3 separate regions of the Homo sapiens genome follow, and all the other regions are linked to region 2. The links are contacts of gene promoters, found by promoter capture Hi-C in human tissues and cell types (Jung and others, 2019). All regions are on one chromosome and are shown on one strand. The core of a region is centred on a gene start or on the middle of the fragment in contact, and the rest is flanking DNA. Distances in the headings are between cores, read along the strand shown. Region 1 overlaps DEPDC5 (DEP domain containing 5, GATOR1 subcomplex subunit). Region 2 holds the start of RFPL3S (RFPL3 antisense). Region 3 overlaps SYN3 (synapsin III).

The links. Contacts are between HindIII fragments. The study calls those that stand out against the background at their distance.
Region 1: a contact is called between a fragment that was not itself captured here and the fragment with the promoter of RFPL3S in region 2, in 1 of the 25 tissues and cell types used here (dorsolateral prefrontal cortex).
Region 3: a contact is called between a fragment that was not itself captured here and the fragment with the promoter of RFPL3S in region 2, in 4 of the 25 tissues and cell types used here (bladder, dorsolateral prefrontal cortex, mesenchymal stem cells and 1 more).

What each region holds. Positions count from the first base shown.
Region 1 is chr22:31,757,793-31,760,797 of GRCh38, forward strand. DEPDC5 (DEP domain containing 5, GATOR1 subcomplex subunit) reads left to right here. Exons shown (of 43, transcript NM_001242896.3): 3 at 754-841; 4 at 2,864-2,910. Among named protein-coding and RNA genes, the nearest start is that of DEPDC5, 5.3 kb to the left of the region's middle. The HindIII fragment of the contact is 5,617 bases long and covers 1-3,005 here.
Region 2 is chr22:32,369,368-32,372,862 of GRCh38, forward strand. RFPL3S (RFPL3 antisense) reads right to left here and starts at 1,897. Exons shown (of 5, transcript NR_104232.1): 1 at 1,831-1,897; 2 at 1,532-1,574. The HindIII fragment of the contact is 22,540 bases long and covers 1-3,495 here.
Region 3 is chr22:32,884,811-32,888,321 of GRCh38, forward strand. The region is part of intron 4 of SYN3 (synapsin III); the gene reads right to left. Among named protein-coding and RNA genes, the nearest start is that of TIMP3, 85 kb to the left of the region's middle. RefSeq lists a silencer at 2,310-2,520. The HindIII fragment of the contact is 3,491 bases long and covers 1-3,000 here.

The sequences.
Region 1 (3,005 bases), core at 506-3,005, 610 kb before region 2:
TCTTTCTGTCACTCAGGCTGGAGTGCAGTGGTGTGATTTCGGCTCACTGTAACCTCTGCCTCCCGGGTTCAAGTGATTCTCCTGCCTCAGGCTCCCAAGTAGCTGGGATTACAGGCTCCCACCACCACACCTGGCTAATTTTTGTATTTTTAGTAGAGACGGGGTTTCGCCATGTTCGCCAGGCTGGTCTTGAACTCCTGACCTCAGGTGATCTGTCCATCTCGGCCTCTCAAAGTATTGGGATTACAGGCATGAGCCACTGCTCCTGGACTCTCTGAGGTTATTTTCTTACTCCTGTTAGATCTAAAGATTTATTGTGACGGTCACATTAAGACACTGTTTGGGAAATTCTTTGAACATTGAATAACTGTAACGAATTGTGCTGTATCTGTGGGAACCAGCCTGTTTTGTTCCTGTTATATGCCAGATACACAATATTTGAGGGGGTAAAAGGCTGTCCAGAAGCCTAATTCCCAGATACTAAGGGCTGCTCTGCCCCTGGAAGCAGTGCGGTAGTAGAAAGGGCACAGGGTATGGAGACAAAGGTACCTGAGCGCCATCCCACTCTGCTGCTGTGTAGCTTGGTGTTCCTGTGTGAATCCATTAGTCATTGTAAGCCTCGTTTCAAAATAGAACCTCATCTGTCAATGGGGTGGCAATACCATCCTGATGGGGTTGTGAGGAACCAGTATGAGAACATACAGTGTACCTAATGAGTGTTTTTCTACTTGAAGTGGCTGAATTGTCTTTCAGATGATGAGCTAGTTGTGAACCCCAAAGTGTTCCCTCACATCAAGCTTGGAGACATTGTAGAGATTGCACACCCCAACGATGAATACAGGTGAGTGTCTCATAGGATCCATGGAACTGGGCAATTCACTGTTTCCAAATGATGTCCAAGGCAGATAGCTCTCTTTGCCTTTCAAAATGCTCATGCTGTGATGGCTCAATCCTGTAATTCCAGCACTTTGGGAGGCTGAGGTGGGTAGGTCATTTGAGCCCGGGAGTTCGAGACCAGCCTGGGCAACATAGAGGGACCCTGTCTTAAAAAAAAATGATCATGCCTTCTAGGATTTGATCAACAAATAATTTTTCAAAAGTGGTCCATTCCTTCGTTTTTTTTTTTTTGAGATGGAGTCTAGCTCTGTCACCCAGGCTAGAGTGCAGTTGTGTAATCTCAGCTCACTGCAACCTCTGCCTCCCAGCCCCAAGTGATTGTCCTGCCTCAGCCTCCTGAGTAGCTGAGATTACAGGCTCAGCCTCCCGAGTAGCTGAGATTACAGGCATGCGCCATCACGCCCAGCTAATTTTGCATTTTTGGTAGAGACAGGGTTTCACCATGTTGCCCAGGCTGGTCTTGAACTCCTGACCTCAGGTAATCCACTGGCCTTGGCCTCCCAATGTGCTGGGATTACAGGTATGAGGCACCGCACCTGGCCTAATTTTTGTGTTTTTTAGTAGAGATGGGGTTTCACCATATTGTCCAGGCTTGTCTCAAGTCATCCATCCTGCTAGGCCTCCCAAAGTGCTGAGATTACAGGCATGAGCCACCATACCGAGCCGTTTTTTTTGTTTTTTTTGTTTTTTTTTGTTTTTTTTGAGATGAAATCTCACTCTGTCACCCAGGCTGAAGTGCAGTGGTGGGATCTTGGCTCACTGCAATCTCTGTCTTCCGGGTTCAAGCCATTCTCCTGCCTCAGCCTCCTGAGTAGCTGGGATTACAGGCGCGTGCCACCATGCTTGGCTAATTTTTGTATTTTTAGTAGAGACGGGGTTTCACCATGTTGGTCAGGCTGGTTTCGAACTCCTGACCTCGTGATCCGCCTGCCTTGGCCTCTTAAAGTGCTAGGATTACAGGCATGAGCTACCTTGCCGCGCCCAGCCTTTTTTTTTTTTTTTTTTTTTTAAGAGACAGAGTCTCGCTCTGTCACCCAGGCTGGAGTGCAGTGGTGCCACCTCGGCTCACTGCAACCTCTGCCTCCTGGGTTCAAGTGACTCTTCTGCCTCAGCCTGTCGAGTAGCTGGAACTACAGGTGTGGGCCACCACACCTGGCTAATTTTTGTATTTTTAATAGAGACAGGGTTTCGTCATGTTGGCCAGGCTGGTCTCGAACTCCTGACCTCAGGTGATCCACCTGCCTTGGCCTCCCAAAGTGTTGGGATTATAGGCATGAGCCACCGAGCCCAGCCTCTTTCTGGTTTTAAAGCTGAGATGACAACTGAAAGGTTCTGTAGCATTTGTCCATTTCCTTTAGTGCGTATGGAGTTTCTTTGTTTCTTTTTTTTTTTTTGTGAGACGGAGTCTTGCTCTGTCGCCCAGGCTGGAGTGCAGTGGCACAATCTTGGCTCACTGCAAGCTCCACCTCCCGGGTTCACGCCATTCTCCTGCCTCAGCCTCCCAAGTAGCTGGGACTACAGGCGCCCACCACTATGCCCGGCTAATTTTTTTGTATTTTTAGGAGAGACGGGGTTTCACTGTGTTAGCCAGGATGGTCTCGATCTCCTGACCTCATGATCCGCCCGTCTCGGCCTCCCAAAGTGCTGGGATTACAGGCATGAGCCACCACACCCGGCCTAATTTTTTCTATTTTTTAGTAGAGAAGGGGTTTCACCGTGTTAGCCAGGATGGTCTCGATCTCCTGACCTCGTGGTCCACCTGCCTCGGCCTCCCAAAGTGCTGGGATTACAGGCGTGAGCCACCGCACCTGGCCGAGTTTCTTTGTTTCTGAGGGAGCTTTCTCCCGTTGTTGTGCTGTAAGTCACAGAATGGCCAGAGTGACCTATTTGCCTTTTGTCGGGGATGAAGGTTGCTAGGGAGTTACTGTTCACGGTATCCCAACTCTCTTGTTGCTTTCTTTTTCAGCCCTCTGCTTTTGCAGGTCAAGTCTCTTAAGGAAGATTTACAGAAGGGTAAGAATTATATCACTCTTCTTAGAATTTTTTATTTACTGCCTCAGAAACTGTAAGAAATCTCTCTTCATAATTTCAAGGGATGAGGGCAAGTA
Region 2 (3,495 bases), core at 647-3,146:
TGATTCTTGTGCCTTAGCCACCTGAGTAGCTGGAATTACAGGTGTGCACCACCACGCCCAGCTAATTTTGCATTTTTAGTAGAGATGGGGTTTCTCCATGTTGGTCAGGCTGGTCTTGAACTCCTGACCTCAGGTGATCTGCCTGCCTCGGCCTCCCAAAGTGCTGGGATTACAGGCATGAGCCACCGCGCCCAGCTGCCTTATTTATTCTTAACACATGTAAGTGCCTCTAACTTTCGATTGTTTCCAAGTCATGGAACGAACAACCTCCTTAGAAAGAACTCTGAAGGATAGGTCAGGAGAACTAAGTCACACAATCCATCAGAAACAGTATTAACAGTTTTTCAAAGTTACACTTTATATGCAAACTTGTACAATTATCATCTTATTATTTTTAAATGTATCTTTACATATATGTATGTGACCTACGTGTTTCCTGGTGTGAGTAAATCTGTATGTTCTTGGTTAATAGTGTTTACCGATTCATTTCACTTCTCTATCTTTGTATGTTGAAATATGAACTACTCTCTGGATGAGAAAAAATGATTACACTTGATTATATTTACCTTTGGAAAGGTAAGTGGTTTGGGTGATTGACTATAATTGTTATCTCTATCATTTTGGATAAACCCCAATCATAAAAATAAGTGTGTTTTGTTTCACACACTGACACATAGACAATACACATTCTTACTTCTTTTCAAAAAGTTAATATGTGAATATAAATGACATATTCCAAATTTACTAAACTGAATACACATTTCATGAAAAAGGAGAGAGGAAAGACATACTAAAAACAGGCCAGGGCCTGGTGTGGTGGCTCACGCCTGTAACACCACCACTTTGGGAGGCCGAGGCAGGTGGATCACCTGAGGTCAGGAGTTCAAGACCAGCCTGGCCAACATGGTAAAACCTTGTCTCTACAAAAATACAAAAATTAGCCGGGCATGATGGTGGGTGCCTGAAATCCCAGCTATTCGGGAGGCTGAGGCGAGAGAATCATTTGAACCCGGGAGGCGGAGGTTGTAGTGAGCCGAGATCGCACCGTTGCACTCCAGCCTGGGCGACAGAGTGAGACTCCATCTCAAAAACAAACAAACAAACAAAAAAACAACAACAAAAGACAAAGATGGACACACTTCGTTGTGTTAAAAGCCTCAAAGACATCTGCATCATTCTAGCTTTGCTCCTAATTTTTAAAATTAATGATTTTAATAGGTTCTTAATTAGGTAAAAACTGCATTAAAACATACTTTGCCATATTTTTCCCAGAAGGATACCTAATTGGGTGGTTTGAGGGGTGCCAGATGTAACAGGAAATAAGACATGTCTTTTAAATAAAGGAAAAGCTCAAAGGCATCCTGCTTGATACTAGAATCAAATATATAAATTGAGGAATAAAACATAACCGGGAAACACATTTATAACTGCATATGAAAAATACAGAGGAGAATTTTTTAATAAAATATATTTTTAAATATTAACTAGTACATTTGAGAGGACAGCATTCAACAGGCCAATGTGAACATACCTTTAATGCAGGAACTCAGGTTCCCCATAAGAAAGACCAGAATCTGTGAAAATGACAGCAAGCATGTTCAACCTGCTATGAACTTTGAAAAACTCAGCACAGACAGTGGCAGTTAGGACCGAGGGCAAGATATACCCAATCACATAACCATGGTGATAGGAGCATCATCAACGTCTCAGGGTAAAGTCACAATGTGTATTGTGAGGTCCGCTTTCTGCTGCACCAACAAGAGTGCTTTCACACGCACAGGAGGGTCATTAAAGATTAGGCCTTTTACGGCAGGGAGTGGTGGCTCACACCTGTAATCCCAGCACTTTGGGAGGCCGAGGTGGGTGGATCACGAGGTCAGGAGATAGAGACCATCCTGGCTAACATGGTGAAACCCCGTCTGTACTAAAAACACAAAAAATTAGCCGGGCGTGGTGGCGGGAGCCCCCAGCTACTCGGGAGGCTGACGCAGGAGAATGGCGTGAACCCGGGAGGCGGAGCTTGCAGTGAGCCGACATAGCGCCACTGCACTCCAGCCTGGGCGACAGAGCGAGACTCCGTAAAAAAATAAAATAAAATAAAATAAAATAAAAGATTAGGCGTTTTACTTAAAAAAAAAACAACAAAACCCAAGCTCATTAATTACTATTCTGTGCTTATTAAAATAAGTTTTAGGAGGAGAAATTGTGTACCCCAAAATACACTCAATGGCAAGAATTTCAAACTGAGCAGGGGCAAAACCGATATGTTAGTAACAACCAGAAGTTCCATTCTCGATTCGAAATTCCATTGCCAAATATTTCTACCATTCCTGAGTCATCTAATATTTCTAGAACCAATAAGCAAACTGTTCAGAATTAAAGACAGCATAAATGGATATTGTTATAAAAGTCATGTTTCTTAAAAAGTGACATTTTTTAAAGTCACATTTTAAAAGTCATATTTCCCTAAAAAGTCATATTTCTACCATTCCTGAGTGATCTAATGTTTCTAGAAGCAATAAACTGTTCAGAATTAGAAAAAAGTGTTACTTGATATTATAAAAATCATATTTCTCTCACAATATAATTATGAAACTTATTTTTCCACTTATCTCTATATATTACTATGCACTTATTTATCTCCCAAACTTTGTGAATTCACAGAGGAATTTGTCTACCATTGTGTATGTAAACGGCTGGCCATTCACTGAGTATTTAAAGGAAAAAAAAATCACTATATTTTCACCAGTGCATCTTCTCGGTGGGGTGAACACTTTGGGTGAATACATATAATTTTTTATTTGAGACAGGGTCTCACTCTGTCACTCAGGCTGGAGTGCAGTGGCTTGATCATGGCTCACTGCAGCCTTGACCTCCCAGGCTCAGGTGATCCTCCCAACTCAGCCTCCCATGTAGCTGGGACTACAGGTTCTTGCCGCCATGCTCAGCTAATATTTTGTAGAGATGGGGTTTTTCCATGGTGCCCAGGCTGGTCTTCAACTCTTGGATTCAAGCAATCCACCCACCTCGACCTCCCAAAGTATTGGGATTAGAGGCGTGAACCACCATGCCCAGCCTAATACATATAATTAAAGTGTTTCTGAATGCAGAATTTTAGATAACTTTCAAAATGTATAACTACGTGTGTATTCTGGCTGATACATAACACCCAATTGCAAATACTTTTATGATATGCCCAAGAAAACAAGCTGTTGAAAGTGACCTGCCCTAAAATAAATAGAACAAATGAAAATTTTAGGGTTAAGATGAGAGAGTTGCTATGTTTCAAAGAGAATAGGTACCCTTCATGATATAAATATTACAGTACAAATGTCTATCATTGCTAAGTACAAATTTCTAGAACAAATAAATAGGTCACAAATGATGTATACAATCTGCATTAATATAGATGATGCTATATTTTGTCCAGTGATTATAAAACAGAGGGTGTAATGGGGTAGGTGCTGAAAGAATAGGTCATTCTGTGTTGTTATA
Region 3 (3,511 bases), core at 5-2,504, 510 kb after region 2:
AAGTTGCAGTGAGCCAAGATCACGCCACTGCACTCCAGCCTGGCGACAGAGCGAGACTGTCTCAAAAAAAAGAAAAGAAAAGAAAATCATTTCATATCAGTACAAATGGAGATGCTTCTTTATTTATAATTGTATCTCATTATGTGGCTCGACCGTAATTTATTTAACCAGTTCCCTACAGATGGACAGTTAGGTTGTTTCTAAGCTTTAGCTATTAACAAACACTTCCGAGAATGAAACTAATCTTAACACTTACATAGTGTATAATTTCAATTGCCTGCCACTAATTTTGAATGGAATGTCATGTATAAAAGCATTCATAAGAATTTTATGCACCATGGAGTTGGGTGCAAAAAAAAAAAAGACTTTTGACAGTATCTGCTTATATCTTCTGAATATGAAGATGATTTTGGCTGCAAATAACAGTGATGACTAAATCAATAAAGAAAATGCATGAGCTCATATCACTGAGCTAGGGCAATCACAGGGCCGAGTAAATCAGAGGCTCAATGTCAGACTCAAGGATCTAAATGTTTTGTGTCCTTCTGACTCTTGTTCTCAAGGATGGACTTTTGTTCTCATACTGTTCCTTCACGTTATCAGTGAGCCACCCTGGTGCCCCGGGCCATACCCTCATGCCTATGAAAAAGAGTCTCTTTCTTGTGTCGCTTTTAAGAAGCATGGTGGATGTTCCAGAATCCTCCCGGCAGGTACATCTCAGGCCTCCCTGGTCAGAACTGCATCATCTTCCCTTTCCTTTTTTTTTTTGAGATAGAGTCTCGCTCTGTTGCCCAGGCTGGAATGCAGTGGCACGATCTCAGCTCACCACAATCTCCACCTCCTGGGTTCAATCGATTCTCCTGCCTCAGCCTCCCGAGTAGCTGGGACTACAGGCGCCCACCACCATGCCCAGCTAATTTTTGTATTCTTAGTAGAGATGGGGTTTCACCATGTTGGCTGGGCTGGTCTGGAACTCCTGACTTAAGGTGATCCGCCCACCTCTGCCTCCCAAAGTGCTGGGATTACAGGCATGAGCCACTGCACCAGGCCCATATTCCCTTTTCTAAACACCTTTCCCAGTGGGAACAGAATGACCACAGCTGGCTGAAACGAACCAGGATTCACCTCATGGCACCAGAAAGGGGCCTATGTTTCCTTGAAGCACATGGCCACCAAACAGCTGAATAAACTCAGGATTTGGCAAGCATGAAAGAAGGCGGGCAACCAACAGTAGACAGCACACCTTCCGAAACCTTTATTTTCATGGACAGCCATATGTTGTTCTTGTAAAGAACTGGCTCATAAGCTTGTGTGTTTTAAAGAACAATATTGCTAAGTGTGTTTACAATGACACACATGGGTAAATTTTAAAAATGCAATAGTAACTCTTAAAATCTGCTACAAGACTTTAATGAGGTCTGGCAACCCCTTGACCTGGAATCAGAACACATAAGCTTGAGAACTCAGTCACTTCTGCGAGGTCGTGAGAATGTTTCTCTAGCTCTCCAAGCCTTGCGTTTCTCCCTGTGAAAATGGCAGCTTCGAGGAGAATTAGGGGTCATGCATAAAGGAAAAGAGAAGGGGCTTTGCAGTTAGACCTGGCTTAGGATCCCGGCTCCCCCAGCTGTGCGACTCTGGACACGTTTTGAGCTTCAGTTTCCTCATCGGTAAAAAGGGGATAAAAATGTGCAATTCATAGAGCCATTTAAAAATATATACTTTATAAAGGCATGATTTGCATAAAATAAAATGCACCCATTTGAAACGTAGTTTGATTTGCTTCGACATATGTAACACTAATATAATCATCATGCCAAATAAAAGATATACTTTCATCACCTTCACAGGTGACTTGTGTCCCTCTACTGTCAATCCCCTGCCCCTTATTCCCTTGGCCCTGGGCAACCACTGATGTTTCAGTGACTATGGATTAGTTTTGCCTGTTCTAGAATTTCATGTCAGTGGAATCATGAAATGTGTACTCTTTTGTCTCTAGTCTTTTTTTCCTCAACATAATGGCTTTGAGATTTGTCTGCATAGTTACGTGCTGCCAAGTATGGACTGGAAGGCAGCCCGCAGGACCCTGCCTCTCATGTTCAAGCCCTTACATGCTTCTCCCCCGGAGGGGGTGGGATCTGTGACTGGTTTGCTGAATACGGCAAAGGAGATGGGTTGGCACCCCATGATAATGCTACGTCAGATAAGTCTCAGTCTTGCTCCCAGATGTATTCTTGTTCTCCCTTGCTTTGAAGTAACAAGCTGCCATGTTATAGAAAGACCCATGGAAAGGCCCACATGACTCATGCTTGTAATCCCAGTACTTTGGGAGGTCAAGGTGGGAGGATCGCTTGAGTTCAGGAGTTCAAGACCAGCCTGGGCAACATAGTGAGACCTCATCTCTACCAAAAATAAACAATATTATCCGGGCATGGTGATGCACATCTGTAGTCCCAGCTACTTGGGAGGCTGAGGTGGGAGGATCACTTGAGCCCAAGAGTTTGAGGCTGCTGCAAGCTATGATCACTCCACTGCACTTCAGCCTAGGCAACAGCGAGACCGTGTCTCAGAAAAGAAAAAAAAAAAAGAACTGTGTGCAACTTCCCGCTGATAACCAGCAAGAAGCCAAGGCCCTTAATCTCACAGTCACAAGAAAAATGACTTGTGCCAACAACCCAAGCGAGCTTGGAAGTGGTTCCATTGCCAGTTGAGCTTCCAGATAAGAACTGAGCCCCAGATGACAATCTTGATGTCAGTCTTACAGAAGACTCAGCTAAGCCATGCCCAGCCCCTGGCCCCCACAAACTGTGAGATAATAAATATGTGTTGTTTGAAGCTGATAAGTTTGTAGACAACTAATATACATCTCTTAGTAGTTTGTTCCCTTTTATCCCCAAGAAGCATTCCCTTATGTGCATGTACCACATTTTGTTTATTGTTCACGAGTTGACAGGCATTTGGGTTGTCTCCAGATTGGGGCTATGATGAATAAAGTTGCTATGAAGATTCTTATAAAAGTCATTTAGATAACATATTTCATTTTTCTTGGGGAAAGGTCTAGAGGAGAATGGTTGGCTCATACGGTGCCTATATATTTAACTTTATAAGGAACTGCCAAACTATTTTCCAAAGAGGCTGCACCACGTCACATCCCCACCAGCAATGTAGGAAAGTTAGTTATTCCACAGCCTCAACGACAGTTTGTACTGTCAGTCTTTTTAATTCAATACCTCATTATAGTTTTTATTTTTATTTCCCTGATGATTAATGATGTTTAATATCATTTCACATGCTTGTTGGCTATTTTTGGATATCTGCTTCTGTCGAGTGGCTATTTGAGTCTCAAGATATTACCATCCCTAGGGATGTTTTAGGAAAGCATATGTATGTAACATGACTGGCATTTAGTAGACACTAAATAAGATATAACTATTATTCTAGATGTTATTATTTTTAAGGTCACTTAGAGATAAAGTTATATGATTCCATAAAGGGCCCACACAGTATGCTTTAA